Linked DNA regions of Homo sapiens: regions 1, 2, 3, 4 and 5 are each linked to region 6. The links are contacts of gene promoters, found by promoter capture Hi-C in blood cells and fetal thymus (Javierre and others, 2016). All regions are on one chromosome and are shown on one strand. The core of a region is centred on a gene start or on the middle of the fragment in contact, and the rest is flanking DNA. Distances in the headings are between cores, read along the strand shown.

Evidence for each region. Contacts are between HindIII fragments. The CHiCAGO score rates a contact against its expected background, and 5 or more counts as called.
Region 1: a contact is called between a fragment that was not itself captured here and the fragment with the promoter of CRY1 in region 6, in 7 of 17 cell types (naive CD4 T cells, naive CD8 T cells, endothelial precursors and 4 more). The highest score is 9.5, in naive CD4 T cells.
Region 2: a fragment that was not itself captured here is called in contact with the fragment with the promoter of CRY1 in region 6 in 2 of 17 cell types (total CD4 T cells and total CD8 T cells); the score reaches 5.4 in total CD4 T cells.
Region 3: a contact is called between a fragment that was not itself captured here and the fragment with the promoter of CRY1 in region 6, in 1 of 17 cell types (total B cells). The highest score is 5.1, in total B cells.
Region 4: a fragment that was not itself captured here is called in contact with the fragment with the promoter of CRY1 in region 6 in 1 of 17 cell types (naive CD4 T cells); the score reaches 6.3 in naive CD4 T cells.
Region 5: a fragment that was not itself captured here is called in contact with the fragment with the promoter of CRY1 in region 6 in 1 of 17 cell types (fetal thymus); the score reaches 5.9 in fetal thymus.

Annotation. Positions count from the first base shown.
Region 1 is chr12:107,621,304-107,624,003 of GRCh38, forward strand. All of the region lies in intron 11 of ABTB3 (ankyrin repeat and BTB domain containing 3), which reads left to right. Among named protein-coding and RNA genes, the nearest start is that of PWP1, 63 kb to the right of the region's middle. The HindIII fragment of the contact is 2,676 bases long and covers 1-2,669 here.
Region 2 is chr12:107,678,016-107,680,781 of GRCh38, forward strand. No RefSeq gene overlaps it. Among named protein-coding and RNA genes, the nearest start is that of PWP1, 6.4 kb to the right of the region's middle. The HindIII fragment of the contact is 2,723 bases long and covers 53-2,766 here.
Region 3 is chr12:106,405,368-106,408,149 of GRCh38, forward strand. POLR3B (RNA polymerase III subunit B) reads left to right here. Exons shown (of 28, transcript NM_018082.6): 11 at 490-609. Among named protein-coding and RNA genes, the nearest start is that of POLR3B, 49 kb to the left of the region's middle. The HindIII fragment of the contact is 991 bases long and covers 953-1,943 here.
Region 4 is chr12:106,315,109-106,317,808 of GRCh38, forward strand. All of the region lies in intron 3 of TCP11L2 (t-complex 11 like 2), which reads left to right. Among named protein-coding and RNA genes, the nearest start is that of TCP11L2, 14 kb to the left of the region's middle. The HindIII fragment of the contact is 668 bases long and covers 958-1,625 here.
Region 5 is chr12:106,292,140-106,294,839 of GRCh38, forward strand. No RefSeq gene overlaps it. Among named protein-coding and RNA genes, the nearest start is that of TCP11L2, 9.2 kb to the right of the region's middle. The HindIII fragment of the contact is 685 bases long and covers 1,100-1,784 here.
Region 6 is chr12:107,092,123-107,094,822 of GRCh38, forward strand. CRY1 (cryptochrome circadian regulator 1) reads right to left here and starts at 1,427. Exons shown (of 13, transcript NM_004075.5): 1 at 682-1,427. The coding sequence starts at 839. RefSeq lists silencers at 1,259-1,488, 1,819-1,898 and an enhancer at 1,569-1,718. The HindIII fragment of the contact is 9,786 bases long and covers 1-2,700 here.

The sequences.
Region 1 (2,700 bases), core at 82-2,581, 530 kb after region 6:
GTGAGTCCGTGAGGAGTAAAACCTGCTGGAAGCATTTCAAAACCAAACTCCCCACCTGACTTAAAAATAAGTAGCTGAATAAAGAGACTTTCACCTGAAATCACCTAAGAAACTGTCTTAGTGAGAAACATTCCCAGGGTCTGGGTTCTATCGTTTTGAGGTTTTGTTTGTTTGTTGTTTTTAACTTTTCTTCAGCCTATACTGGGAATTCCAGAATTTATTGAGACATTCTGTGTATTAAGTAAAACTAACCTGTGCGTTCTTAAAGTAAACTTTACTTTGAGGTATGACATACGTACAGAAAAGTGCCCAGCTCATAACTACGATGCCAAATGGATTTTCATAAGATAGACAAACTGTGCAATCCTCATCCAGACTGAGAAATGGAACACGACTAGCACCCAAGTGGTCCCCTTACACCCTACTCCACTGCTATCCTCCAAAGGGCCGCCACTCTCCCGACATCTAACACCACACTTTGTTTTGCCTGGAGCCACAATGTTTGACTTGGACAGCTCATTAGATAGGAAATAGTTCTCAGAACCTGAGCCCATGATTATAAGAATCTACAGGCTGAAGCATACAAAATACCCTCCATTCACAGAAGTGGTGGGTGCTCCCATCGTTTAATAGTCAGTCATTTGAAAATCAGGCTGACTGGGTATGGTGGCTCATGCCTGTAATCCCAGCACTTTGGGAGGCCGAGGTGGGAGGATTGCTTGAGCCCAGGAGTTCGAGATTAGCCTGGGCAACATGATGAAACTCCACCTCTACAAGAAATACAAAAAAATAGCTGGGCGTGGTCGTGTCTCAAGAGCAGGGAGCCAGTGAAGTGTGTTTTGCTTTTACAGGGGGTTCAATGGCATCCCCTACTGGTGAAATGTGGCTTTACACATCACATGCACTGACCACTGGCCGGGGGTGGGAGCGGGTAGGTGGAGGTTAAAAAAGGAGATAATTTCCCCGAGCCTGCAGGGTGAAGTCACCCATTCCCCAAGCATGGGGGATATTCTTGTGGTCAAAAGAAAAACTGGAGGGAGATGATGACAGAGAAATTCCAAGTTGAGAAGACAGTCTCCTGTCGGACAATAGGGCAGCCATCATCACAGAGCTGGCCAGCATTGTTCCTTCTCCCTGCACTTTAGGATTCCTGTTCAAATGTTTGTCCAAACAAGTATCTTTTTTTTTTCTTTTTTAAAACAAGGTCTCGCTCTGTCGCCCAGACTGGAGTGCAGTAGCATGATCTTGGCTCACTGCAACCTCTGCCTCACAGGTTCAAGCCATTCTCGTGTCTCAGCCTCCCAAGTGGCTGGGATTGCAGGCATGCACCACCATGCCTGGCTAATATTTAGTAGAAACAAGGTTTCACCATGTTGGCCAGGGTGATCTCGAACTCCTGACCTCAAGCAATCCTCCCACCTCAGCCTCCCCAGGTGCTGGGATTACAGGTGTGAGCCACTGCTCCTGGCCAAATATCTTGTTTTATCAGAGTAGTGAATAGATTCTTGCAAATAAATCCACTTTATGTTCAACTTATAGAAACAGCTGTCCTGTAAAATGAGGCATATTCGTCCCACCATTATTGGTTTGTGCTCACTCAAACCATACTTGAAATCCGACCACACATCTGCTTCTATGTTCTTGTTTCTAAATTTGGACTTCAAATGAATTCAGTGTCTCTAGACTTCCCCAGGAGCAGAACAATATATTCATTTTTTTGAATACATCTGTTTAAAAAGACTTCCCAGCTTATTTGTCTTTTTTTTTTTTTTTTTAAGATGGAGTCTTGCTCTGTTGCCCAGGCTGGAGTGCAATGGTGCAATCTCGGCTCACTGCAACCTCTGCCTCCCAGGTTCAAGCAATTCTCCTGCCTCAGCCTCCTGAGTAGCTGGGACTATAGGCCCACGCCACCATGCCCTGCTAATTTTTGTATTTTTAGTAGAGGCAGGATTTCACCGTGTTGGCCAGGATGGCCTCAATCTCTTGACCTCGTGATCTGCCCACCTCAGCCTCTCAAAGTGCTGGGATTACAGGTGTGAGCCACCACGCCTGGCCTTTTTTTTTTTTTTTTTTTTTTTTTTGAGATGGAGTCTCACTCCGTCGCCCAGGCTGGAGTGTAGTGGTGTGATCTCAGCTTACTGTAACCTCTGCCTCTCAGGTTCAAGCGATTCTCATGTCTCAGCCTCCCTAGTAGCTGGGATTACAGGCACCCACCGCCATGCCTGGCTAATTTTTATATTTTTGGTAGAGACAGAGTTTTACCATTTTGACCAGGCTGGTCTCGAACTCCTGACCTCAGGTGATCTACTTGCCTCGACCTCCTAAAGTGCTGGGATTACAGGCATGAGCCACCACATCCGGCCTCTAGCTTATTTTTCTAACACATCATTCCCCTGGGCATAATCAAGAGATAATCAGGAGTGCCCACTTGGTTCCAGGCACTACAGTGGTGATGGGACAGACATGTTCTTTATCCTTCTGGAGCTTACTGACCAAAAGCAAGAAAATAAATAAACGAAACAGAGTCAGAGCATGATCAGTGTTTACAAAATGAAATGGGACCATGGTATGGTCTCTGGGGGTGGGGCTGATGAGGTCTAACTTAGACGAAACGGTCAGGAAGTTCTCCCTGAGAAAGTGGCATTTGAAAAACCACCTAAGTGAGGAAAAGCTTCCAGCCATGCAGAGATCTAGGGCAAA
Region 2 (2,766 bases), core at 164-2,663, 590 kb after region 6:
GTCATCTGGAGACAGACTGGAGCAGAAAACCAAGGTAGAACTTGAGTTGGAAAGCTTATAGGGTTGAAGTTTCACTTTAACGCTGAGGTGTTACACAGAAGCTAGAGGGGGCAGAAAACTACCCAAGTCTGTGGAAAGGAGTTTTTCTGACAGGTGGTGATAGTGGTGGCATCAAGGAGGAGGGGACTGAGGGAATGCAGTTGCTGGTAAAGGGTAGATGGTCAGAATCCTCAGCTGTCACCCAGCAACTTGACGGTGAATAGGATGAAGCAGTCACCAATCAGGCTGTCACAACCACATTTGCTTGCATGTCTTATTTAATTTTCCCTTGACCATAAACCTCTGATCCTATATTAGAATACAGAGCCCTCAGAGGGAAGGGCTGTGTCATGTTCATTTTTGTAGCTCCCTGTCTCCCAAACTGTCCTGCATAAAGATGGCAAAGAAAACAATTGTTGCATGTCATGGGTGACAGTTCTTGCCTCCTCACAGCAGCACCCCAAGTTTCCTCCAGAGAATTCTTGCTGCCAACTCTGTGTTCCCTGTACAGCTAATTCTCTCTCTGGCTCCAGGGCTGGGCATGAGGCTCAGGCTTTGCTGAGCAGAGCATCACCTTCTCCTGACCACAGTGACTGGTGATCATTCCAGAACTGAAGAGGCAAATGAGAGAGAAGTAGAGAGAAATGCAAGTGCTTTTTCTGCCGAGGTTGCAAGTAGTAAAGATGCATCAAGCCTGAAGCTCCTGATGGCTTAATGTTAAGTGAACAGATTGTAAGACAGAAACTAAATATAGAAGAGAGGTCCAATCCTGATGACAGTGGTTTCAGCCCCTAGATCCAGCTATGTCTGAAGCTATTTATGTCAGTAGGTTCTTGAGCTACTAAGCATATACATTCTCTTTCTTGCCCAAGGCAAATGGAGTCGGTTAGCTGTCAATTGCATTCAATAGAGTCCTGACAGACCAACGAATGAATGAATGAATTGATGAACAACTCTACCAGAAAACTTGTGTCACATGACAGACAGGATCCTATCTCAGGAGTCGGGTTAGTATATTGCCATTGCTAACTCTATGACGCTGGGCAAGTTTCCTGATTTTTTTTTTTTTTTTTTTGAGACAGAGTCTTGCTCTGTCACCCAGGCTGGAGTGCAGTGGCACAATCGATCTCTGCTCACTGCAACCTCCGCCTTCCAGGTTCAAGTGATTCTCCTGCCTCAGCTTCCCAAGTAGCTGGGACTACAAGTGCATACCACCACACACAGTTAATTTTTGTATTTTTAGTAGAGACAAGGTTTCACTGGCCAGCCTGGTCTCAAACTCTTGACCTCAGGTGATCTACCCACCTCGGCCTCCCAAAGTGCCAGGATTACAGGCTTGAGCCACCACGCCTAGCCTTCCTAATGTATTTGAACTTCAGTTTAGAACTCTAATATTATTCATTTATTCAACGAATATTTAGTGACATTTGCTGTGCCAGGCACTCTGCCAGGTGTTGGCAATACTGTGGTAACAAGACTCTCACGGCTCTCGTCCTTGTGAAAATGCCAATTCAGTTCTAGAAAAATCAAGTTTCATTTTTGTACACCTGATTTTGTCACTGTCAAATCTATTCATGGTATAAGTCTCTAGCACTTGGTAAGTGGTAGCTATCATTCCTTCCACTCCTTATCAGCTAATATTGTAGGGTCAGCTAGAGGAGGAGCAAGAAACAGAGCCTCGTGCAATGGGGGAGGAGGGTACCATAGGCTTCATTTCCTTCCCAGCACTCAAGCCCATTTAGAAAAAAATGTTTATGAGCCTCAGTACAGATGACACTGAGCTATAGGGTATAACAAGAGCCTGGCATGGCCCAGGATTCGATCCTCTGGGACCCTTAACTAAGAATAGCCAACGTGCCACCAACGACATTTATTCTGGCCTCTGGCAAAGAGACTTTTCTGACTTAAATATGTTCATCAGTTCCTAAGAATCAGGCTTAGAAACAGAGCTACTTAAGCTCAATCTCTTTCAATTCTCATTATAAGGAATTAATCATACCTGCTGCCATGGGATTTTCATTTTTAAAGGGAATTCACAGCTTGGGCTGAAGTGGCAGAATGTCGGAAATAAGTCCTGTAAAAGAGGCTGAGTTTAGCAAGCCCAAAATAACTGGAGTCCTAGCTTACCTTCTGTTATTTAACTTATTCACTCATTTAACAACTATGATTTATCAAGAGCCCACCCTGCACCAGGCACCATGCTGGTTGTGACAGCAAACCTGACAGGGACTGGGCCATCATGGAGCAGAAGCTGGCTCATGAGAAGGCAACCCACGGGGGCAAAAGACCTAGAGTCAAATACTCAAACCTAAGCCCATTCCCGTATACAAGGTGAGCCCACGTGAGCCTAGCCAGGGGTTAATACATCAGCCTCTGCTAAGAAATCAGTTCATGCGCTCTATTCTAAATACAGCACATTTCTCACCTGCTTTATTATTGCTGCATTAAAAGATGACCTCAAAACTCAGCAATTTAGTACTTACTACCACTAAACTATACTCTTAAAAATGGTTAAGTTCGAGGCTGCAATGAGTTATGATCATGCCACTGCACTCCAACTTGGATGACAGAAATGTAACCAGGCACCCCCATTTTTTAAGAGAATGAGTTATTTTTTAAATTTCATTATTCTTTTCTCTTTTCTCCTTTTCCCCTGTTCCCCACTTCCTACTTAGCTCTTTAGAAATGCCATTATAACGTTTTACCTTCCCTTCACCAGATACTCTC
Region 3 (2,782 bases), core at 198-2,697, 690 kb before region 6:
AACATGTCATGACCCTTAATTTATTTAGGTTTTGTTTTCTGTCAGCACTGTTTTGTAGCTTTCAATGTAGGGGTCTTACATGGTATGATTCATTTTTGAGAGGAAAAAAGTACTACTATAAAATTTACCTGTGGTTTTCTCTGGGTGAAGGACTGATGGCTGCTATATGTCTACACACACACACACACACACACACACACACACACACACACAAATATATTTTACTTGTGTCTGTATTTTCTAAATTTCCTACAATGACAATGTATCATTTTTTTTAGTAAGAGAAAAAAGGGAACCAGTGTGTTAGGCAGTATGCTATGCTTTTTGTCATTGATTTATGATAAACGTTGATTTTCAACTAGACCCAGTACAGCTTTCTCTATAACCAGGGTCTTTATCTCTTTCGCTCATACTGTACATGTGGTTAGGTGCTTGCTAAACTACCTCCAGTGATGTCATTCAAACATTATTGTAATCTGTTTTTTATAGGCATTAAAATATATAGGGAACAAAGTAAGAAGGCAAAGGATGTGGGGAGGTGGACCAAAGAAAACCAAAATAGAAGAAGCAAGAGAGCTCCTGGCTTCCACCATTCTGACCCATGTCCCAGTGAGTAACACTTCGTTATTGTGAATAAGGACTGTGGGGTCTGTGAATTCCTGTTAGAGAACTGTGATAAGAGTTTACCTTATTTAAAGTCCAATTCCTCAAGAGAAAATTCTAAAGAGGACTGTACTGCCCCATCAGAAATAACCTTCCATTATCAGCAGTTTGTTTATACTCGGAGAATGTTAGCTGTATCGCCATCATCATGTTTATTCTCTTGTGGTTATTCTTTCAGTCTTAAATTATTGTTATTTTATATTCATACATACATTAGTACTGCTACTAGATTTCATGGTTTTGAAGGACAGAGATGGTGTCTTACATGTTTTATAAATAAATTAAAATAAGCTTACAGTGCCTTGCCCGTACATATTTTTTATTGTATGGTAAAATTGCTTATGTAAAATATGCTTATGCTTATTGTATAGTAAAATATGCTTAATGGTAAAATATGCGTAACATAAAGTTTACTGTTTTAAGTGTACAATTTTCTGGACTTAAGTACATTCACATTATTGTACAACCATCACCACAGCAGATAGTTTTAAAAATGTTTACTGGATGAGTTCATCTTCTAGACCTTGAATTTAAAGTTCACATTATCCAGCCTCCTTCACTTATTGTGAAGATTCTCTGATCCAAACATGCTAGATGATTTGCGTTGTCACCCAGCTGGTTAGTGGTAAGAGTAAGGGTTAGAACCTATCTTCTGGCCTTGAACTAGTATGTAATATTTATTTTTTATTAATTTATTATTAAACAGAGATCAACCATATTGGCATGTGGGGTGTTGGCAAGAGGCAGCCCTCAATTTTCTTCCCATTTAATGTATATGCTACTCTTACTAAGTTATGGAATTATTATTTGTTAGACTATCTTGTTAACTAAATAGTCTGGTTTGTAGTGAGTTATCATGTGTTCCATCCGTGAATAATCTTTTTCAAGGGTTGCAAACACTACCTTCAGGGGCTGACTGTAAAATAATGGAAGGTCACGGGATCTGTGGAAGTCGAGAGTAACCACCTGAATGCATCCAGATCCGATTTTCCTGTATTAAAACACCCTTCAATCCAAATAATACAGGTCTCTCATTCTGCCCCTTGGCTACCATTTGTGCATGTCCTTGATTTAATCCAAATAATTAGAAAATTCTGAATGTTAAAGCTGGGTCTCAACTGAATTTTAAGCTCTTTTGGATGATTGGAAGAGTCTGAAACTTAAAATAGCAAAAATGGATAGTAGAAACAACAAAGGCTTTTGAGCCTGAGACGTAATTGTTCAAATCCTGGTTTCTTACATCCTAACTGATGAACTTTGGGCAAATCTGAACTTTTCTAAGCTTCAGTTTTCTCATCTTTTTAATAAAAGTAATTCCACTTTCTTGCAGGGTTCTTGTGATGATTCGGAGATATAATATACGTAAAGCTCTGTATTTTCCACAGCTCCCCATGTAGTTCTCAGGAGCTACACTTACCTTCACACTATAACTGAGAAGAATGTTGGGTTAATTAAAGAGCTTTAGTTGATAGAGTCCTGCCGATATTAACATTTGTTTAGTTAGACTGATAAAGATAGGCCAGGCACAGTGGCTCACACCTGTAATTCCAGCACTTTGGGAGGCTGAGGCGGGCAGATCACCTGAGGTCAGGAGTTTGAGACCAGCCTGACCAATATGGAGAAACCCCATCTCTACTAAAAACACAAAATTAGCCAGGTGTGGTGGTGCATGCCTGTAATCCCAGCTACTTGGGAGGCTGAGGCAGGAGAATCGCTTGAAACTGGGAGGCGGAGGTAGCAGTGAGCCAAGATCACACCATTGCACTCCAGCCTGGGCAACAAGAGCAAAACTCCGACTCAAAAAAAAAAAATCATTTGTGCTTTTCTGTGGTTGCATGGAACCTAAATTACCATTTTAAAAGTTTGGTTATACATAATCCAGTGAGGAATAAAGTCAGAATAGATGGTTCAGGGAAAAGAACTTTGTTTTCCAGAATTGTTTTGGACAGTATTTACCTAAATGTGATATAAAGGATGATTTTCAGTGATACAGGGTCATTTTTTATGTAAGTAATTACATACTTATTAGAAGGAATACAACTAGCACATCAAATCCATTTTTGTGATATATGTGATTTTATGGTATTATTGCATAGGATGAAGCTTAGCTTAAAATTGG
Region 4 (2,700 bases), core at 42-2,541, 780 kb before region 6:
GCGTGTAATCCCAGCTACTTGGGAGGCTGAGGCAGGAGAATTGCGTGAACCCAGGAGGTGGAGGTTTCAGTGAGCCGAGATCGCACCACTGCACTACAGCCTGCGCAACAGAGTACTCCGTCTCAAAAAACAAAAACAAAAACAAACAAACAAAAAAATTCCCCTAGGATACATATTACCCATAATCTTTAGAACTCAGTTTATATGTCACTTCCTGAGGGAAGCTTTTTCTGACATTGGTGAACCCCCTAGACTACAATTAATCCCTTTGCTACAGACACCTGTAGCCCTTGCTGCCTCCTTTTTGTTAAGAGGTCTTATAATTTTATGTTTGATGTCCATCTTCCCCACTTGATTGAAATGCACTATTTATGGAGGAGCTATGTCTGTATTGTTTGTTGCTGTATCCCTATTGTCTAGCATAGTGCCTGACATACAGTACAGGCTCAAGACATATTTGCACATTGATTTATGGAAAACTGATACTCAGGTTCTGAAGAATAAATAAATGCACCTGAACTGTCAAAGTGCTAAAAGCAGGCAATCCAGAAATGTCTGGAGGTAGGAATCACAGCTGCAAGAGGCACTTCCTGGTTAACCTCGCCCTCCGACCTCTAGTTGGAGCCACCCCTTTGGATCCTACTTCAGCCTTTCTGGAGTCAGTGGCTCACAGGTTTCCTGAGACAAAGAGAAGAGGCTTGAGACTATTATTACAGATCAGTCGTCTTTAGAAGCAAAGTTGGTTCGTGGATTGAATTTTCAACCTTACAGTACCAATTATAAATCCTGAGGCATTCTATCAGTTAAGACAACTTAGAATATTTGATCCCATTCAGAACTTTTTCATTTGTTTTAAAGCAGGAAAAGTAAAGGAAGTCAATGTAATAACTCTTCTTCTTTAAAATGTGGATCATAGTCCTCTTGGGGATGTTGTTCATTTAATATTAACATTTTTTAAGCTTGCCATGTATCGTGGGTGTATCTGTTTGGTTTCCTTTGGTAACTTGCATTTTGCCATGACCCTTGATACCAGCTCTACTGCTACAGCCCTAGGCTAGGCCACCGTCATCTGTGGCCTGGACCCTTTCAGTCCTAACTGGTTGCCGTGTCTCCTTTCTTAGCCCCCAACAGTTCATCTTCCATATCCAGTAGCCTTAATGATGTTTTTAAAGAATGAGCTATATTAGATGATTTCTTTGCCAAAAACTCTTCAATGGTTTTCACTTACTCAGAGACCAAAAATCTAAGCATTTTCCTATGGCCTGGATGGCCCCACTCCCCTGACCCCATCTCAGTGCTGTCCCTCCTGCTTGCTGTGCTTCAGCCACACTGGCTTCCTTCCTTACCTCAGGGTTCACCAATCTGGATCTTGTCTCATAAACTTTGTTCCTCTGACTTCTTCTTTTTGAATGTTCTTTTCCCAGACCTTCACATGGCTCTTTGCTCTCCCCTTCTGAGTCTGAACACAAAGGTCACTGACTTAAAGAGGCTTTTTCCCACCATCCAGTGAAATCAGCACCCTCTCTGTAACTGTGTACCACATTGTCTTATTCTTTCTCATAGGTCTGAAATTGTCGTATTCATTTTTAATGTATTTTTTGCCTTTTTGTCCCTGCTAACATATAAGCTTTTTGAGGTCAGAGACTTTCTTTTCACTGTAGTATTCCCAGTTCCTAAAACAGGGCCCTACACATATTGGATGTTTAATAAACATTTATTGACTAATACAAATGAATTTTTTGAGATGGAGTCTTGTTTTAAAGTTAAAATTTGTATTTTTTATGAGGTAAAGCAAAAGACAGGGCATATCTGTACTTTAAATTCAAAAGTGGCGAGTACAGGCCATAGTGAAGGCATTTTAGGCTCAGACAGACTGTGGGGTTTGAATCCTGGCTTTGCTGAGACCATACCTGAACCTCACACTTCCCAAGAATAAGAAGGGGGCTACACTACTCACTTCAAATGCATACTCACTAGCATAAAAGTGCCTTGCACATAAATACTTTGATACTATGGAAAATATTAATCTCTCTTCCCTTCAGTTTCTGCCATGGCTAGAAAATGTGAGCAAGGGAAACAAAGTACAGAGTTAGGACACATTGCCTTTGTTTAAAGATAAAGTCTTAGCCGGGCGCAGTGGCTCACACCTGTAATCCCAGCACTTTGGGAGGCTGAGGTGAGCAGATCACCTGAGGTCAGGAGTTTAAGACCAGCCTGCCCGACGTGGTGAAACCCTGTCTCTACTAAAAGTACAAAAATTAGCTGGGTGTGGCAGTGCATGCCTGTAATCCCAGCTACTTGGGAGGCTGAGGCATGAGAATCACTTGAACCTGGGAGGCGGAGGCCGCAGTAAGCTGAGACTGCGCCACTGCACTGCAGCCTGGGCGACAGAGTGAGACTCTGTCTCAGAAAAAAAGAGATATACTTATCAAATTATGAATTCATTCACCATGCATGCATTTGTTAAGCAGTCACTATATATCAGGCACTGTACTAGGCACAATGGTAAGTACCTACCTGGAGGACTTATGGCCTCTGCTTAGGAAAGGTATATAGCTCTGTGGGGAAAGAGCCTCGTCAGTAATTACAGTGGAGGGACATGTGGTTTTCTAAAAACTATTGCTAAATGGTAGAGAAGTTAGGTAGGAATGTGTATTTTAACGTGCACCTATTTTAAGGGATTGACATAAGGGGTGAAGC
Region 5 (2,700 bases), core at 192-2,691, 800 kb before region 6:
GGCCAAGGTGGGAGGATCACCTGAGGTCGGGAGTTCGAGACCAGCCTGGCCAATATAGTGAAACCCCATCTGTACTAAAAATACAAAAAATTAGCCAGGTGTGGTTGTGGGCACCTGTAATCGCAGCTACTCTGGAGGCTGAGGCAGGAGAATTGCTTGAACCCGGGAAGTGGAGGTTGCAGTGAGCCGAGATCGTGCCACTGCACTCTAGCCTGGGCACAACAGAGCAAGACTCCGTCTCAAATTAAAAAAATAAATAAATAAAAAATAAAGAAACAAAGATGGATATAAAGAGTTATTGTCTGAAAAAGGTTTTGGGGCAAACACGAGCAAGCATTGCTCACTGCAGGCTCCAATGCACAGGCAGAAGTATCTCCTATTCTCGTCACCCATGACCAAGAGGTGTATTTGGGTTAGGGCATAGCTGCATGTGCCTCAGATCTGTACTCCAGAAGAGGAACTCCCATACCTGTATTTTCCCCTTTTATGGAGCAAGTATGAGAACGACTTTGCCCAAAAGAGACATCGTGGTCTCAGCCATCAGGTAGTCTGAGAATAAGAGGCAGCTATTGAGGGGAGTGTTGGTAAACACTACCTGCCCAGCATCTGGAGACTTTAGGTGCTCAGGAGAAGTTTAATTTTTGCACAACCCCTCCTGCTAAAAGGAAAAAAAAAAAACCCTGAAACCCTTGTTAGTCCAAAGTCAGGCAATTAATTTGAGCCTCTGAGTTCAGCCTTCAGACAGTTAAATTGCTTGTATTCATGAGTAGAAGACATTCCTTGTGCCCAAGGAACAGTCTGAAGTGAGTGACTTTCATGTCCTCCAATAATTACAGGATATGTGTGATACATGCTGTACATTTAAAAGATTTCCTGAAGTCTGCTTTTTTGCATCTAGTCATGCATAGCAGATTTCATGGGTGAAAACAATGCTTGGGGCCCTACTTTTCTTCATGGAGATGGCAAAAATGCTTAAAGAGCTAGGTGAACCATGTAAATGAATGAAGTAGGCTACATATAAGAGGGGTGGGCTTGTGGCATTCAAATTCAAAGTCCACCTGTGGGCTGAAAGCCACTCATTGCAATGCCCTCTACATCAAGCTTATGGTTCAGCTTTGGACTCCTGAAGAAATGGCGCAGAACCATCTATGTAGATTTAGAAAGTGAATTGAGTTCCTCACCTCATTTGGCAAGAATGGTGAATTTCCCACAGTTCGCAGGTACCTGTGGTTCCAAAGTGAGCTGCCGTTTTTGAAAATTATAAAAGCAACACTGAAGCAGTTTAAACCAATCCAGATTTTTAGCTAAGTAGTTCCAATTTTCTTCCTTATCAGTTAAGCTCATATCAGCCTTATTTTTCAACAATGAATTTGACCTAAATACTGATTTAGGGGCCTGAATCTGTTTTGTTGAGATCACTTGAGAACTTCTTGTACATGTATCTGCTTGGCTACTCCTTTCTCTAGGAAGCCTACCTGGGGGTCGTCAGTTCTGGATTACATGCTCCTTCTATGTGGCCCCTTGGATTGACTTCTATTTGTCAAGGTATAATTTTCAACAAATTGAAAACATGACTTATATGAAACAGAACAAACACGGGCTTAAAAAAATATTTATTTCATCAATTAAAGAGTTAGCCAGTAAAATGGTAAAGTTGGTTTAAGGAATATTTGAGAAATAGGGGTTTATATATCCCATCAAGAAATGCATTTTTAAAAATCTTACAATAAGATTACTAGGTTAGACACAAAATTGGTTAATGTCTTATAAGGTAATAAATAGTAAGCTTTTATCTTTTCTATAGAACAGAAAAGATTTTACTTGTATTAGAAATGGACAAGAATAATTTGCATTGTTATCAATTTTTTGGTGTTTTGTTTTGGGTTTTGGTTTTCGGTTTTTTGACATAGGGTCTCTGTCACCCAGGCTAAACTGAGGTGCCATGATGATAGCTCACTGTAGCCTCGAACTCCTGGGCTCAAGGGACTCTCCCACTTTAGCTTCCTGATTAGCTGGGACTACAGCCACATGCCACCCTGCCCAGCTAAGTTTTGTATTTTTTTTGTAGATACAGGATCTCTCTATGTCGCCCAGGCTGGTCGCCAACTCCTAGCCTCAAGCAACCTGTCCATCTTGGCCTCCCAAAGTGTTGGGATGACAGGCGTGAGCCACTACACTGGGCCCTTGTTATCAGTTTTTGATAAAGTAACATCTGCCTTTACAAAGTTCTGGAATATCTGAACCAATAACGAGTAGTAAGTCCAACAAAGGTACACAGTCCTAGATAATGCATGAATCCTTGTACGAGTCTGCTACTACACTGCACTACACAGCACCCTACTAAAAGGACATCCAGTAATCCCTTTTGCCTATTTCCAAGTCTTTGGATAACGTTTGGATAATTATCCAAGTTTTTGGATCATTGTTCTTAACACAATATAAAGTTATATTATTTTCCTGAATGGATCTGACTTACTGGCCTAATGAGTGGAGAATAGTAATCCTCACATTGATATATAAATACTGGGTGATGTGTTAGGCTCATTTGTGAGGTAAATAAATGGCTCCTGTACCACCAACTTATTAGATTCAAATTTGCTCCTTGGCAGAATTTTAAATTATCGCATGTCACAGACCTTTAAGTTGCCCAGGACCTGTCGAAACTGTAAATATTAAATCATTAAAATAACAAGAGTATAA
Region 6 (2,700 bases), core at 177-2,676:
TCCACCAGGGGGCCTAACAATCATGTAGCCTGGTGTTTCAGGAAAAGATCATAAAGCATCTCTAAGATTTCTTTCAGTGCTCTGATCCCTAGAAGGACTACAACTTGCCTAGAAAGAAAAACTGTGCTTTGTCTCGGCAACCACAAGGAGGAGTTGAGAAAAAGAACCGAGCAGAGAAACCAGATAATGCTGTTTCCCTTGCTTTTCCCACAGTAACCTCAAGGTGGAAGAACACTGGATCTGGAGCCTGCTGTACTGAATGAATGATTTTTCTCCATACTATGAGTTACCTAGACACAAACGTAAACAGGAAACATCACAATCCTTCCGAATGCCACAAAAAGGCCAAGGGAATCCATATACAATGGCCACTAAGGACAGGAAAGGTGTTTCTTTAACTCCAGCACTAAGAATTCTCCACAAATTCAGGGGAGGAGCTCCAGTTAGCACAGAAAGACACATAACTCACTGATGAAGACCGAGTGTTTCAGGTCGTCAGTACTCTTTGGCCAGAGAAGTATTAAGTCAATTCTATTTAATACTTAGGGCACCTAAAATTCGTAAGCGGTATAAGCAAGACAGTCCCACGTCTAAATTCACAGATTTGGCGGATCGCATGGAATTCATTAACATCAGACTCATTAAACACCCAAATCCATTTCCCACGGGCTTGTGACTCACCGCCACCTGTTGATGCCCACATTGGAGGAGCCGGCGAACCAGGGGTCCAGGATGTAGACGCAGCGGATGGTGTCGGCGCCCTGAATGCACTCCTTCAGGGCGGGGTTGTCGTGGAGCCGGAGCCCCTTTCGGAACCAGTGCACGGCGTTCACCCCCATGCCGGGGGGCGCGGCGGGTCCTCCACGGAGAAATTCAAGGAAGGAGGCTCCGGCTCATAGCCGACACCTTCGCTTCCAAGAGAATTGCCTCACCCGGGGCGTGAGGAAAGGGCGGCAGAGGGGGAACAGGAAAAAATGACTCCGAGGAGGGGACCGGAGAAGGCGGGGGCGCCGGAGGCGCAGTGGAAAGATGAATGGAGGTTGCCTAGTCGGCGGAGTCCGGGTGTGACGCCCTTTAGGAGCCCGCGCCCGCCGCAACCGCCTGGAGGCGACGCATAACTTCGAGGGCCTCGGACCTCCGGAGCCTGAGCAAGTTCCAGGAGCTCGAGCCGCCACGACGGCCCGAGCCGGCACGGACGGCCCCAGGAGATTCGTCACGGAAACCTCGCCCCACCAAGGCGGCCCCTAAAGACAAAACGGCCCGCCCGAGGTGAGTCACCGAGGAGAACCGGAGGGGAATGAGCCCCTGTCGGCGACGCTGTCTCTCGGCCCGGGAGAAAGGACCGGGAACGGAGGCTAGAGGCGGTGGTCGAGGCCGCTGGACGGTTGCCGGCCGGTGACCGGTCCCGAGGCTGCCCGGGTGACTCTGCCGCCGCCGCCGCGTCAGCGGCCTCGGCCCCGCCCCCGGCTCCTCATTGGAGGGCGCGCTCCCCTCGTGACCACCGGCACCTCACGTTTCTGAAGTGTGTTTACTACACTGGCTCGGAGGGGTAATCTGCTCGCGCTTCGGTCGCTTTTGGAGGAGCGGCAGCCGCTTGATCCCAAACTTGTTGACCCTCGTCCACACGCTGAACTCACTGCCTCTGCCCCTTTCCTGTGCCGACTGGTGGCCGTCCCTTGGAAGCAAATCGCGTTGACCACAGGCCCCTTGTGAGGGAAGGCTTAGCCCCGCCCCCAAGGGCCATGAGCGGCCACCATTGGCCGAGGCTCGCTGAGACCCGGATGAGCACGGGGATGCGGGGAGCTTGCGGGCGCGCGCGCTGCTCCGTTAGGCGCGCGTGCGCTCTCGCTGCGTTCCAGAGGGTAAGGGGGCGGGGCCGGCGGGCAGGAGCGCGCTCGGCGATTCCTCCCGTGGGATTTGGGGAGGGCCTGGAAATTGTCCGGTTTCCTTCAGGAGCCAGTGGTGGAGTCGGGCGGAGAGTGAGGGGAGGATGGAGTGGAAGGAGGAGAGTGGGAGGCTCCACGTACATTTCAAGTCCAAACCATGTGCTTCAATCCTGCTTTGGCCAGAGAACCCTACTTTGGAGATTGTGGAGCTGTGCCCCTCCACTCTCCTGGCCCTTGGGTGCCTCCTCCCCCTTGTACATACTCTGGGGAAAAGGGTAATTGGCAGGACGGATGCCAGGCATTCCTGGACTTCCTGGAATTTTTTTAATACTAGCGATATATATCATCAACCTTTCACCCCTCGTCTCTTACATTTAATGTAGTTTACCGGTCTCTTTGAAACTGGACGTTTGTCTACTTTTCCAGCGACAGTGAACTGCAGGCCATGGCATCCCTTAGATATATGATGCCCTTAAATTCATTCAATGATTACTTTTTGAATGAACTAGGCACTGTTCAAAGCACTAGAGATACAGGAGATACTTAATAAAACAGACTAAAACCCCACCCCTCCTGGGGTTTACAATTTGTCTCTTAACCTTTGCTGTTTTTTCCTCTATAAAATACTCTTCTTTGGAATCCAGTACTCAATATTACCACCTTTGAGCTACCTAGGATATTTCTACGCATCCCTTTAGACTCAGATGAAATAATAACTAATTTCTGAAAGTATTCCTGATCCCTAGGGCAAATTTAGGACCTCCCTGGGTTCTCCAAGTATGTTTCTGTTACATCACTTTTCACACTACCGTGA